Linked DNA regions of Homo sapiens: region 1 is linked to region 2. The links are contacts of gene promoters, found by promoter capture Hi-C in blood cells and fetal thymus (Javierre and others, 2016). All regions are on one chromosome and are shown on one strand. The core of a region is centred on a gene start or on the middle of the fragment in contact, and the rest is flanking DNA. Distances in the headings are between cores, read along the strand shown. Region 1 holds the start of MACROH2A1 (macroH2A.1 histone). Region 2 holds the start of HNRNPA0 (heterogeneous nuclear ribonucleoprotein A0).

Region 1 (5,936 bases), core at 1,664-4,163, 2.4 Mb before region 2:
GACGTGTTCCCAATAAGAATAAAAAGAACACCTGATCCTGTCTCTCTCCTGCTCAAAACCCTTCAGTTGCTCTTAGGATAAAGTGTGGGTCTGACCAGAATCCTTTGTGATTTGTCCTGTTTGTCCCTCCCTGAAGCCTCACCTGACTCCGCACCAGGACTCAGCCATCCCGAGCCTCTGGCAGTTCCCCACATGACCTCTGTTCTTTTCTTCTAAGATGCACACATGGGGTTCCCCAGGCCTCAAACACTTGTCCCCATCTGCCCTCCTTTGCCCAGCCATCTCCTGCTTGACCTTTCCAAGCCAGATAAGGGCTCACTCCTGGCTAGGTTACTGTACCTGCTGGGGGGCTACGTGGGGCCTTTTGCACTGATTTTACAACAGCTACTTGCCTGCCTTCTCCCAAAGTCAGCTCCCCCAAGGTAGGGGCTAGGCATTTCTTAATCACGGCTGTGTCCCCAGTGCCTGAACAGGAGCTGATTCTCAGGAAATCTTTATGGAAAGACTCTGAGACACTGACCTGACAGGTTTGGTCCAAGCAAACAAGCTATACAACTCTTTGGAATGAAGAGTTGACTCACTCAGGCTCACTTGTAAGCACTGAGGCAGGGCCCAAAAGACCTCTAAACCTACAGAATATGGGAAGGACCCACAGAGATCTGGGCCCCAATCACTCCTGCCCCTTCCCAGCCCATGTTCTAGGAATGGGGCTCTGAAAAGGCTGTCACAAATCCTTGGGGACACTCAAATAAAACCAGAGGCTGTTGCAGTTCTGATGAACAACACATATAGAGTCTTGTTGGGTTCTTCGGCTTGAGGTTTTCAGTTTATGCTTTTATTTAAATAAATCTCCTTTAGGTGACTTGGGGCCGCATTAGCTCTGAAGGCAGGTCCCAGAACACATGCCCTCTGAGCTTCTCAGTGGGGAAGGAATGCGAGGCGCTCCTCAAGTTCGCCTCTCTCAGGGACCAGAAGAAACATCAGATGGAGATGTGTCACTCCCTGACACTGGCCCATTTGGTAAAAACTAAACCAGTGGCATGGTTGTATACTAGAATGTCACATGTGAAGTTCCAGACAATTCTTAAAGTTTAATAAAATGTGAGTTAAATTATGCCTCCTTCTAAAGGCCTGCCTCAAACAATTTTCATTTAGACAACCCTCTTAATGCCTTATCTAGGGATCAGCATTAACAATGGTGACAGATCGAAGCCAAAGAACAGACTGGAAAGATTTCTCTCTCCTTGTAAAACTAGAAGGGGGAAGAATTTGAAGTCTTTCAAGAGTTTTGTTGTGTTTAAGAAAAAATAAGTTTGAAAACATACTCATCCTCATCAGAGAGTCTCTTGTGCAAGACTGAGATGCTGCTGCCCAACTCTAGTTAAATGTGTACAATGGGTATTAATTCCAGTTGCAGGCAAGAGGTGTCCATTTCAGAGTTAACACCTCTGACAACAGGCTAGTAGCCTAAAGGTGGCCTGCAGTAGGTGAATTCCACCTAATTTACAACTCGAGTCTCCCATTCAAACCTAAGACTGTTAAAAAATGCCCGACTCCCTGGAGCAGGGAGCTTTGGAACAAAACACTTCCCTTACCCCCTACTTTAACGGTAAAACCTCAAACCACAAAGGTGGAAGAAAAGAGGGAAGCTAGCAGGAGTGCCCCCTCTAATTGTCTATTCTTATGTGCTGTTTACTGGGTCATTAAAATCTTACAAGGCCTTTATAGTCATTGTAATTGTTGAATTCAAGGTTTGTCCCAGTTGTTTGTACAGAAGTCTCTCACTTTGAAACTCAGAAACATTTCCCCTAACATCTTGTCTAAAAGAACCTTTCAAGCAATGTACTGACCAACTCCTTGAGTGATCTGTGGCCCCTGCAGGAGTGGGGGTAGGGAGCGCCATGTCGCACACCTGTTGTCAGGTGACACTGCCAGCAGCATCCTGCACACTCACCTCCCCACTCCACCCCACCCCCAGCGAGGCTCTTTCCTGCTGGCCTTCTCCACCCGGGGAAGCCTACAGCCTTCCGGAGTTACCTTTTAAAAAAAGCAAACCCTTCCTACCACAAAGCAAACAAAAGGCTGATACCGAGACAATCGGGAGCAGCGGGGGTTCCCGTGGCCCCTCTCCAGCCCATCCTTGGACCACTCCCCAACCCGGTCCCCCGCACCAGCCCGGCTTCAATCCCGCGAGTAGCCCCCGCCTTCCCCTCCCTGCAGATAGCGAGCCAGACGCCTACACCTCGGCCCCCCGGGGCTCGGGCCCGACTTATTGTGCCGGGGCCGGCAACTCGCGGGCCGGCGGGGGCCTCACCAAGTACAACTCTGCTCACAGCAGCTCCCGGGTGCCCAGGCCCAGACTGCCTAGCCAGCGCCGCGGGGCCTCCTGCGGCCTCGGGCCTGGCCCGTGAGCCCGCCCCAGGAAGGGTCGCCAGGGTAGGCGCCAGCACCGCTTTTTTCCCACAAAAGCGCCCAGGCGCGGGCAGGGGGATGCGTTTCGAAGAGAAGTTGGTTTCCAGGTTTCTTTTTTGAACAAAACCAAAGGGAATCCCGCGCGGCCCGACAAGGCCTGGGAGGACGTAGTGCACGCGCGAGGACCCGGCGTGGGCCACACCGAACCCGGCGGCCCGAGCCCGGCCCGCACCACACCGGTGCGCGCCAGGCCGGGCCGCTCCCGGGCACCCGCGGCCGGACCCGAGCGGCGGGGACAGGGAGTGCGGCAAGGGGGCCCGCGCGGCACTTACGCGGCGGCTCGGTGGCGGCGGCGGCAGCTGCAAGGTGTCTCGGCCTGAGCCCTCCTGGCCGCTCGCGCCTTTTCTCTCCGCGCTCCTCGCTGGCCCGCCCGCCTCTTCGCTTCCCGCCCGCGCGGCCCGCGCTCTCCCCCTCCGCCCGGCGCCGCTGCCGAGTGAACTGGAACCAGTCCTCGCGGCCGGCTTCCCACAATGCACAGCGCGCCGCTCGTCACATCCCTTCGCGGCCCCGAGCGTCCGGCCTCCGCGCCCGTGCCGCCCGGCGCCCCGGCCTTGACCCCGGGCCCGCGCCCTACCCGTTGACGCCGGCCGCTCTGCGCCCAGGCACCAGCCCGCACCCCGGACGCGAGGTCTGACCCATGACCCCGGGGACGCCCAGAGCCCAGTCCTTGGGAAGGGCCAGGCCCCTGGAGAGGAGCTTCTTCAGGGCGCGTCCCAGACTCTGCGTCTCGAGTGAACGCCTACTGTGTGCCTGGCTCTGAGCACGGGACTGTCGCTGCCACGGCATCTTTAGGAACCTTCCCACTAACCCAGTGGGAAGGCACAATGGCTGTTACCAGCGATCGCTCTTCCCTCCCCAGTCAATGCCAACTCCCCCCTGCCCCGCCTCAGAGACCCCGCTGTCTTTAGATACAGGCCACCGCCAAGCCCTGGTCTGCCCCAAGATCAATTACTGCGCACCCGGTTCCCCTGGGGTCCTTCAGTTAATCCTCCTCACCCCGAAGTCTGGAACCTGCCTTGCACATGGAAGCGGTTAGCTACTTCGCTTCAGCAAAAGTTCACTTTCGGACCCAAGTTGGGAATTACTAATGTAGACAGTGATTCCTTATCATCACACACGTTTTTTAAAAACTGCGGACAGGCCGAAAGAGGAGGAGCCGCCACAAAGCCCGCCACGTCTTCCTAAATTGGTTTACCGCCTGAAGGCATTGGTGCCCCATCCCGGGTACTTAAATGGGGGCCTGCCCTCTACTCCCCTCCCTCCAAAGTGTGGAGCCGGAAGCCACTTCTCCATCCAGCTGTGAACTAAATTTGGATAATAATACACATCCCTCAGGGTTGATGTGAAGTTTAAAGTGCCGCTACTGGGGATTATGGAGGTAATTAGAGACCCCCACCCCCACCCCCCAGTCCTCAGGCTGCGCGGGAATCGCAGCGGCAGTAACCTCCACCTCACCGGGATGCTTTACACCTTACTTTAAGAGTTTGCAAAACAATGTCCAATACCTGCCATTCATGCATTCGTTAATTCGATTAAGTACTGAGAACGTATTTTGTGTCATACATCGATTTGGGTGCTGGATATGAAACAGCCAAGAGAACAGGCAGAAATCTCTGCCCTCCTGTAGTTTGCAGTCTCGTGGGGGAAAGACAGACAAACGGGAGAATGTGTCAGAGGGTCTCCATGGGGTGGAGAAAAATAAGGCGGAGAAGGGGAATAGGAAGTGTGAGATAAGAGTGAGGCTCAAATACAAGAGAAGGCCTCTATGAGAAAGTAACATTTAAAGCCTGAAGAAATTGAGGGAGCAAGCCGTGTGGATGTCTGGGGAAGAACTGCGCCGAGCATGAGGAATAGCAAGTGCAAAGGCTGGGGTAGGAGTGTGTCCAAAATAGTCAAGACAGAGCGAGTGTGAGGTTGGAGTAGAATGGGTGAAGGGGAAAGTAACAGGAGATGAAGCTGGAAAAATGATGATGCTTATGATGCTTCTGGTCCCAAAACAAAGCATTATGGTTCTATGAGGATCTCCCGAAGAAAAGATGTCAGGAAAGGTGCAGAGACCCTCCCCCACACACCACATTGTTGTTCCATCCTTCTCTGTGCCTTTGGGCAAGGACTCTCCGTTCTGTAGGGACCACCAGGTGGAATTAAAGTCTACACTCCTCCAAGAGCTGATCTTGGGGCGGCCCCACCTCCATGCCCCTCTACAGCGTGCCATTCTCATAGAACACACTAGGACCTTTGTCCTCTGGAGCTGTTCAGTGCAGCAGCTCTGACCTCATCCTTCTCCAGAAGCCTCCACCTTCTCTCCCCTCTCTCCTCCTGCGCTTTGTGTGTCCTGTTCTTCCACTTCGGTGACCTGTCTCCTCCCCTAATCTGGCTCAGAGAGGGGTACCAGCTGCTGCTGCTGCTATTGCTTCTTCTTCTGTTAAAGGTTTTTTATTTTTTTCCAATGACAAAGCTATGCTCATTCTGAAAACATGAAAAATAAAAATGCTCAAAAAATAAAACTCACTCTACATTCATTGCTAGGAGAGAACAGCCTGCTCCCATTCCAGCCTTTTTATCTATATCCACTTAACATTAAACATACAGAGTTTCTACTCTATTTAGTGATTGTCACCTGCACTTTAAACTTAATGGTTCTTTATGAGCATTTTACTGGGTAGTTGTTCTACAATAACATTACTGGAACTGTTTGGGTTTCCCTTGACCCTCTTAAAAATTACTGAGAACCCTGAAGAGCTTTTGTTTTATAGGTTACATCTATCAATATTTGCTTTATTAGAAATAAAAACTGAGAAAAAGTAAATATTTATTAATTTATTTTAAAAATGTTAACATGGAAAGAAATTATATTACATAAATAATGTATTTTAGAAAAATAATTATACTTTCCAAACAAAAATAATTAGTGGGAAGAGTGGCATTGTTTTACAGTTTTGCACGGCTCTTGAATGTCTGGTGTAATAGAAGATAGCTGGTTTCATGCCTCCTCCTGCATTCAGTCGGTCACTATATGTTGTTTTGTTTGAAGTATGTGAAGAAAATTCAGCCTTATGTAGATATGTATATGGGAAAGAATAGAGGATTTTAATCGCCTTTTCAGATAATTACAGATGTTCTTTTTTCATACCACACCAAAATGCAAGGAGTCGTTTCTTAAAGGTTAAGTGCAATGTAGAACCTGAAAAAAAAAATCAATAAACTTTTGAACTCAGTTAATACATTAAAATCCATTGGCCTATTTTATATCTTGACTGGGTCCTTTAGCTATGCATAATTTGGTAAAATCATACATTGATCATTTGGGAAATATCAGTTCACTGATTTATACGGATCTTACAAATGTAAACACATTTCATTGTACAATATTAGAAAATCACATCTATTAATAGCACCACTGATCTCATCTGAAGGTTTTTGAGTATTGGGAAGTTGTCAAGCTCTTGGTGGCAGATACGAGT
Region 2 (6,240 bases), core at 1,670-4,169:
GCTTTGAGCCTTCAACGTCAACATGTAAGTCAAATATTTAAGTTAAATATTAACATCAAGTTAAGCATACTAGATTAAAAGGTACTCTGAACCCACCCACCAGGTTATACATACTCTCACTCAATCATGTAAAGAATTGAATTCTTTATTTGTGATATCCATAAACGTTGCTATTCTCTATTTCTATCCAGAAAGGCAATTTTCACCTATTATCACTTTTGTTCTTCTCTTATAAACAACAACTTGAATGCTATTGCAGGAAAGGGCTACAAATATACATTTGTTAACCAAGCAGAATACACAGATATTTTGCTTTACAACTTGCACCTAAAATACCAGTATACGTAGCTGGTTCATTAGTTGTCATAGCAATTTAGGGCTATTGCCCAAGCTATGCATAGCAGTTTACATTTTCAAACCTCATATAGAAAGGGCTATTGTGATATGAACTGGCAACTACATTCCTGTGAAGCCCATCTCAGTTACAAGCAAATGTGTTAACTTCCAATTCTGCAAAGAATTTTGATGGCAAAACTTCCAAATCTGATGCAATTGTCTTAAGCAAGTTTTTAAACAAATTGTTTCGCAGCTACTCTGCCATTCTGCCAGTAGATGGTGCTACAAAGATCGGGAAAGGGATTTCCATGAGGCCAACAGTTCGGATATAGGAAAAAAAAAAAAAAAACGTTTAAACCTGCTCTGAAAGTACAAAAACGCATTTGAGGGTAAAATATAACCCTTATTTTTAACCATTCATTACAGACAAACCAGTAAGAGGGATGAAACTAGGCCATCTGAAAAATTTTAAACAGTTTATATGAATGACATGCTTAACACAAACTATATAGAACTACACAGTACACAGTTTGAAGTAAATTGTCATAGAAATGACCAACCATGTCAAGATGATAAACAATTCGCTTAGTACAAGAGATGGATGCACAGAAACTTAAGAGTTTAAAAAGCCACATCCACCACTTCAAAAGTTTTGCCTGTAAGGGATATAATTCAACACGCAACTAGCAGGGCAACAGGAGAGGGGAAAAAAACCACAGGACCTCTTAAGTTTCTCTAAGTACACATCAAGAATAAAGAATTAACACGTAAAGTCTTAAACAAATATCCCTTAAAAAACGGTACGGAATGGATCCTAGAAAAAAAATGTTAGACATGTACGGTCAAACACAATGATTTATTAAAAATAAAACGTAAAAATGATTTTTGTACATATGCTTCCAAATTTCAGGCATGGGATCCAAGTAGATTTCATAGAAAACGCTGTAGCCAGGTTATCAAGTCCTTACAACAAAGTAAACTACCCCCCACCCCAACCCCCACCCAGGTTTTGCTACAGAATCAGCAAGTTCACTCCCTCCCTCCCCCCAAAAAACACAAATTAAAACAAGACATTTTGCTAGTATAAAAACGACCAAGGTCCAAGTAATAATAAAAAAATAGAGTCCATCAATGACTGTAACACAAAAATGTGTATGTGGGGCCGAGTCCATCTTCAGAGGGAGAGACAAGAGAGGTGGCAGGCAAATAGAGGAACACCCCCAAGGGTAAGCAGCCTTAGAAGTGGCTCCCCCAAGGGCAAAACAGGGAAGGCGGTGTGTGTGAGGGGGTGGGGCTTAGGAGTTGACCCCACTTGGGCTGTTGGAAAGAGCTACCCCTATAGCCACTCCCAGGCATTTTAAATTTTCTTTTAGAAGGAGCTGCCTCCATAGCCACCCCCACCGCCATAGCCGCCTCTGTAAGGTCCACTATTACTGCGACCGCCCCAGCTACTGCCTCCACCGCCGCCGCCGCCGCCGCTCTTCATGGGCCCATAGGAGGACTGATGCTGGCTGTAGCTGCCGAAGCCGCCGAAGCCGTTACCGTAGTCGCTCCCACCGTAGGACGAACCGCCGCCGCCGCCTCCGTAGGCATTGTAGCCGCCGCCTCCGCCGCCGCCGTAACCACCGTAGCTGTTGTAACCGCCGCCGCCGCCCTTGGAAAGGCCGTTCTGGTCTCGACCACCGCCGCGCCCCCGGCCGCCTCGGCCGCCCCGGGAGGATCGGGAGCCGCCTCCACCCCCACCGGAGTAGATATCCTCCTTGGGGACTGCTTTCTTCACCTCCACGCGATGGCCCTGAATCGGATGGAACTTGACCACCGCGGCCTTGTCTGCCGCGTCGTGATTCTGGAAATACACGAAGCCGAATCCACGCTTCTTGCCGGACTGCTTGTCGGCAATAATCTCGGCCTTTTCCACGGTGCCAAACTGCGAGAAGTGCTCGATCAGGTCGCCCTCAGCCACGTCTCCTTTAAGGCCTCCGACAAAGAGCTTCTTAACCTTGGCGTGGGCACCGGGCCGCGCCGAATCCTCCCGGGACACCGCCCGCTTCAGCTCCACAGTGTTGCCGTCCACGGCATGGGGCGAGGCGGCCATGGCGGCGTCCGCCTCCTCCACATTGGAGTAGGTCACGAAGCCAAAGCAACGGGAGCGCTTGGTCTGGGGATTCACCACCACCACGCAGTCCGTCAGAGTCCCAAAGGCCTCAAAGTGGCCGCGCAGGCCCGACTCACTCGTCTGCACATTGAGGCCGCCGATGAACAGCTTACACAACTGAGAATTCTCCATCTCCAAGGCCCGGGCCTTGCCCCCGCCCTGCGAGCTCCGAGGTTTCGCCGTCGCCGCCGTTATCGTTGGTTAAGGCCTCTACACAGCTTGGGCCCAGCCGTTGCTGGAGCCACCCCCGCCGCTCACCGACGGGGAAGGGAAAAAGGGAAGGGGAGGGAAGGAAGGAAGAGAGGAAGGGGGAGGGAAGGGGAGCGGTGCCGGCTAAAGGGCGAGCCGAGGAGACTGGAAGACAACCAAGGCCACCGCTACCGCCGCCGCCGCCACCTCCGCTCCCCTATCTGGGCACCACACAAAGAGGCCGCTGAACGCGCGCGCACCCTCCCCGAGGCGTGCGTCACCGCCGACGTACGGCAGCCTAGGGCTACCAGCCAATCCCCGCCTCGCTCCCCTTAATCCCGCCTACCGCGCCGCAGCGCCGCTCTAGATCACGGACTCCCCGCCCTCCGCGGTCTATTCAAGCCCGCGGCCTGTGCCGCTCCCGCTTCCGCTTCTGCCAGCCCACTTTCATTCCCGAGCGCCCCACTGTCCCTTGACATGGGTCCCTCCCTGCCCTCCGCGCACCACCGCGATTCATTTCCTCCTAGCACCGCGGCTGTTCCCAGTGTTTCTCCCCCTCCCCTTTACTCATCCCCTCGCCCAACTCCGCAGTGGCGTTCGCGCCAGCCCCTTGAGAGACATCTGAGTTCAGCCAATCACCGTGATCCCCTCGCACCCACTTCCGTTTTCGGCAGCTGTTGGACGGGCGCGCTCCCCGGTGCGCGCTTGCCCCGGCGCCCCCGGCGTGCAGAGCCGGCCTACCACCCCCGCGCCTTCTCCCGCCCAGGGCTTTGCCGGGGAGAGAGCAGGGGGCGCGCTGGGGGCCATTCCCAACGGATGCGGTCTGGGGCGCCACGCGCGGGCTTTTTGAAAACTTGACTGTTGGGGTTGGGGGCCCGGATCTACCCGCCGCCTCTCCGCTTGTCCGCTACACCTGGCGTCCCCGCCCCACCTCCCGCCCGCACAAAGATGGAGGGCAGAGGCCTGGTCCACGAAGGCGGTTATTAACCGTTTACAGTGGGCCCGACGTGCGGTTAAACTAAAACTTTGCCACGTGGCCCTGCGCAAAAGCGAGCCCGAGGCGGCGGTGTGAAAGACAACAGGGAACCAAAAGAACTTCAGACATTAGGAACCAGACGAGGCGCGACATCCCTGCCTCCCTGCCACCCTCCCGCCCTCCTTGAAGCCCTCCCACGATGCCCTCTCAGAGGAGGCCCTTTCAGGTCCCCTTGGCACACTCCAGCAGACATTTTCATTTAACCTCAGTGAATGGTTTTTTATGTGTAATTTACATCATCTATGTGTTGCTTTCTTTGAACTAGAATGTTAGCTTTTTTGTTGTTGTTGAGATGGAGTTTCACTCTTGTTGCCCAGGCTGTAGTGCACTGGCGCAATCTCGGCTCAGCAACCTCCGCCTCCTGGGTTCAAGCTGTTCTCCTGCCTCAGCCTCCTGAGTAGCTGAGATTACAGGCGCCCACCACCACACCCGGCTAATTTTTGTATTTTAGCAGAGATGGGGTTTCACCATGTTGGTCAGACTGGTCTCAAACTCCTGACCTTAGGTGATCCATCTGCCTCGGCCTCCCAAAGTGCTGGGTTACAGGCGTGAGCCACCGCGCCTGGCCTAGAATGTTAACTTTGCTTTTTTTTTTTTTTTTTTGAGACGGAGTCTTGCCTAAGCTGGAATGCAATGGCACGATCTTGGTTCACTGCAACCTCCACCTCCCGGGTTCAAGCGATTCTCCTGCCTCAGCCTCCCAAGTAGCTGGGACTACAGGCGGGCACCACCACACCTGGCTAATGTTTGTATTTTTAGTGGAGACGGGATTTCACCATGTTGGTCAGGATGGTCTCAAACTCGTGACCTAGTGATCTGCCCGCCTCGGCCTCCCAAAAGTAGAATGTTAGCTTTTTAAAGATGTTGGGTTAGACGAATGTTTTACAGAGAGAGAGATCATATACCCCTAAGTTACTGCTTTTAGTGCCCTCACTCAGATGGGAATGGAAGAAAATTACAATGGCTTCCATTTATTGAGCCTTTGTGTGCCAAGCAAGATAAATGGGGTGGGACATAGTTAATATGAGGCATTACGTGACCAAAAGCCTCCAAAACCATATGGTAAACGCTGAAGAAGTTAAGAGGAATTCCTCACTGTATCCTCAAGTATTCAGGAAAGATTTAGGAAAGAATTGGAAGTTGCACTGAACCTCAGAGCCAAAGACTAGTTAGTATCCTAAGCAAATTAAGGCTGGAACAGAAAACCAAATACCACAAGTTCTCACTTATAAGTGGGAGCTACACATTGAGTACACATGGACACAAAAGAAGGGAACATTAGACATCAGGTCTTTTTTAAGGATGGAGGGTGGGAGGAGGGTGAGGACTAAAAAGCTACCTATCAGGTATTATGCTGATGACTTGGGTGACAAAATTATCTATACACCAAACCCCCAAGACTAACAATTTACCCACATAACAAACCTCCACGCGTATCCCTTGAACCTAAAATAAAAGTTGGAAAGGAAAAAAAAAAAGATTTCTGTAGGGAGTTTATTTGAGCAAAATCCAGAGGGAACATAAGCTTCAAGAGACAGGGAGTGGGCCAGTTAGTTTGAGAGAAGCAGGCAGTTTTAGATAGAAAATAGTGAGAGGTAAGATAGGTTGAGGGTCTTTGGTACTATGAAATGATACTATGGAATGTGCTGAATCTTAGGTTAAGTAGTTTGGATACTGTAACAAAGGTAAATAGATGGGCTAAGGTTTGAGGGTAAACTAGTCTGATCTATCACTTACCCTGTAACCATTCAGTTATGTGACTTTGGCTAAGTTACTTAACCTTTTAAAAAAATGTAATCAGTTTTATTATCTTAAAATGGGAATAATAAAACATCTTTCTGTTGTAGTGAAAATTAAATAAGATTCTACATGTAAACATGTATACATGCCTGGTACACAGTAAGTGCTCAGTTTATCCAATTATATGAATCCTATGCCTGGTGCTGGCAATATGGCTGTAAACAACAGACAAAAACCTCTGCCCTCATGATGCTTACATTCTAGTGGGAAGAAGCAGACAATAAACAAATAAGAGTGGTATATGGCATGTTAGATAGTGATAAATGACATTAAAAAAATGAAAGAGGACAGTAGAAAGCTATTAACCTTGTTATTACAAAAAAAATTCAAATGTCAGGATTTGCCTATTGATAATAAAGAAAGGGGAAAATGGGCTGGGCACAGTGGCTCGTGCCTGTAATCCCTGCACTGTGGGGGGGCTGAGGCAGGCGGATCACTTGAGGTCAGGAGCTCAAGACCAGCATGGCTAACAAATTGAAACCCCGTGTGTGGTGGCGCATGCCTGTAGTCCCAGCTACTTGGGAGGCTGAAGCAGGAGAATTGCTTGAACCCAGAAGGCAGATGCTGCTGTTGTTAGCTGAGATGGCACCACTGTTTCAGAGTCATCCAAATCTTAAAACAGTAAAAGATGAACTCCTGAAGGAATAAAGACCATAACTTATGAAAACTGTTACTTTAGGAATTTACAATTTTGGTAGATAGTTTTTGCCTACATTGTTTTTAA

Evidence for each region. The method cuts DNA at HindIII sites, captures the fragments that hold promoters and counts their contacts. A CHiCAGO score of 5 or more calls a contact.
Region 1: the fragment with the promoter of MACROH2A1 here is called in contact with the fragment with the promoter of HNRNPA0 in region 2 in 1 of 17 cell types (neutrophils); the score reaches 7.4 in neutrophils.

Annotation. Positions count from the first base shown.
Region 1 is chr5:135,396,318-135,402,253 of GRCh38, forward strand. It overlaps MACROH2A1 (macroH2A.1 histone), which reads right to left and starts at 2,914. Exons shown (of 9, transcript NM_138610.3): 1 at 2,745-2,914. RefSeq lists silencers at 2,250-2,309, 2,620-2,789, 2,800-3,259 and enhancers at 3,160-3,665, 3,666-4,171. The HindIII fragment of the contact is 9,460 bases long and covers 1-5,936 here.
Region 2 is chr5:137,751,444-137,757,683 of GRCh38, forward strand. It overlaps HNRNPA0 (heterogeneous nuclear ribonucleoprotein A0), which reads right to left and starts at 2,920. Exons shown (of 1, transcript NM_006805.4): 1 at 1-2,920. The coding sequence starts at 2,623. The coding sequence ends at 1,706. RefSeq lists enhancers at 1,579-2,270, 1,680-1,839, 2,350-2,699, 2,961-3,652 and a silencer at 3,280-3,639. The HindIII fragment of the contact is 5,253 bases long and covers 1-5,239 here.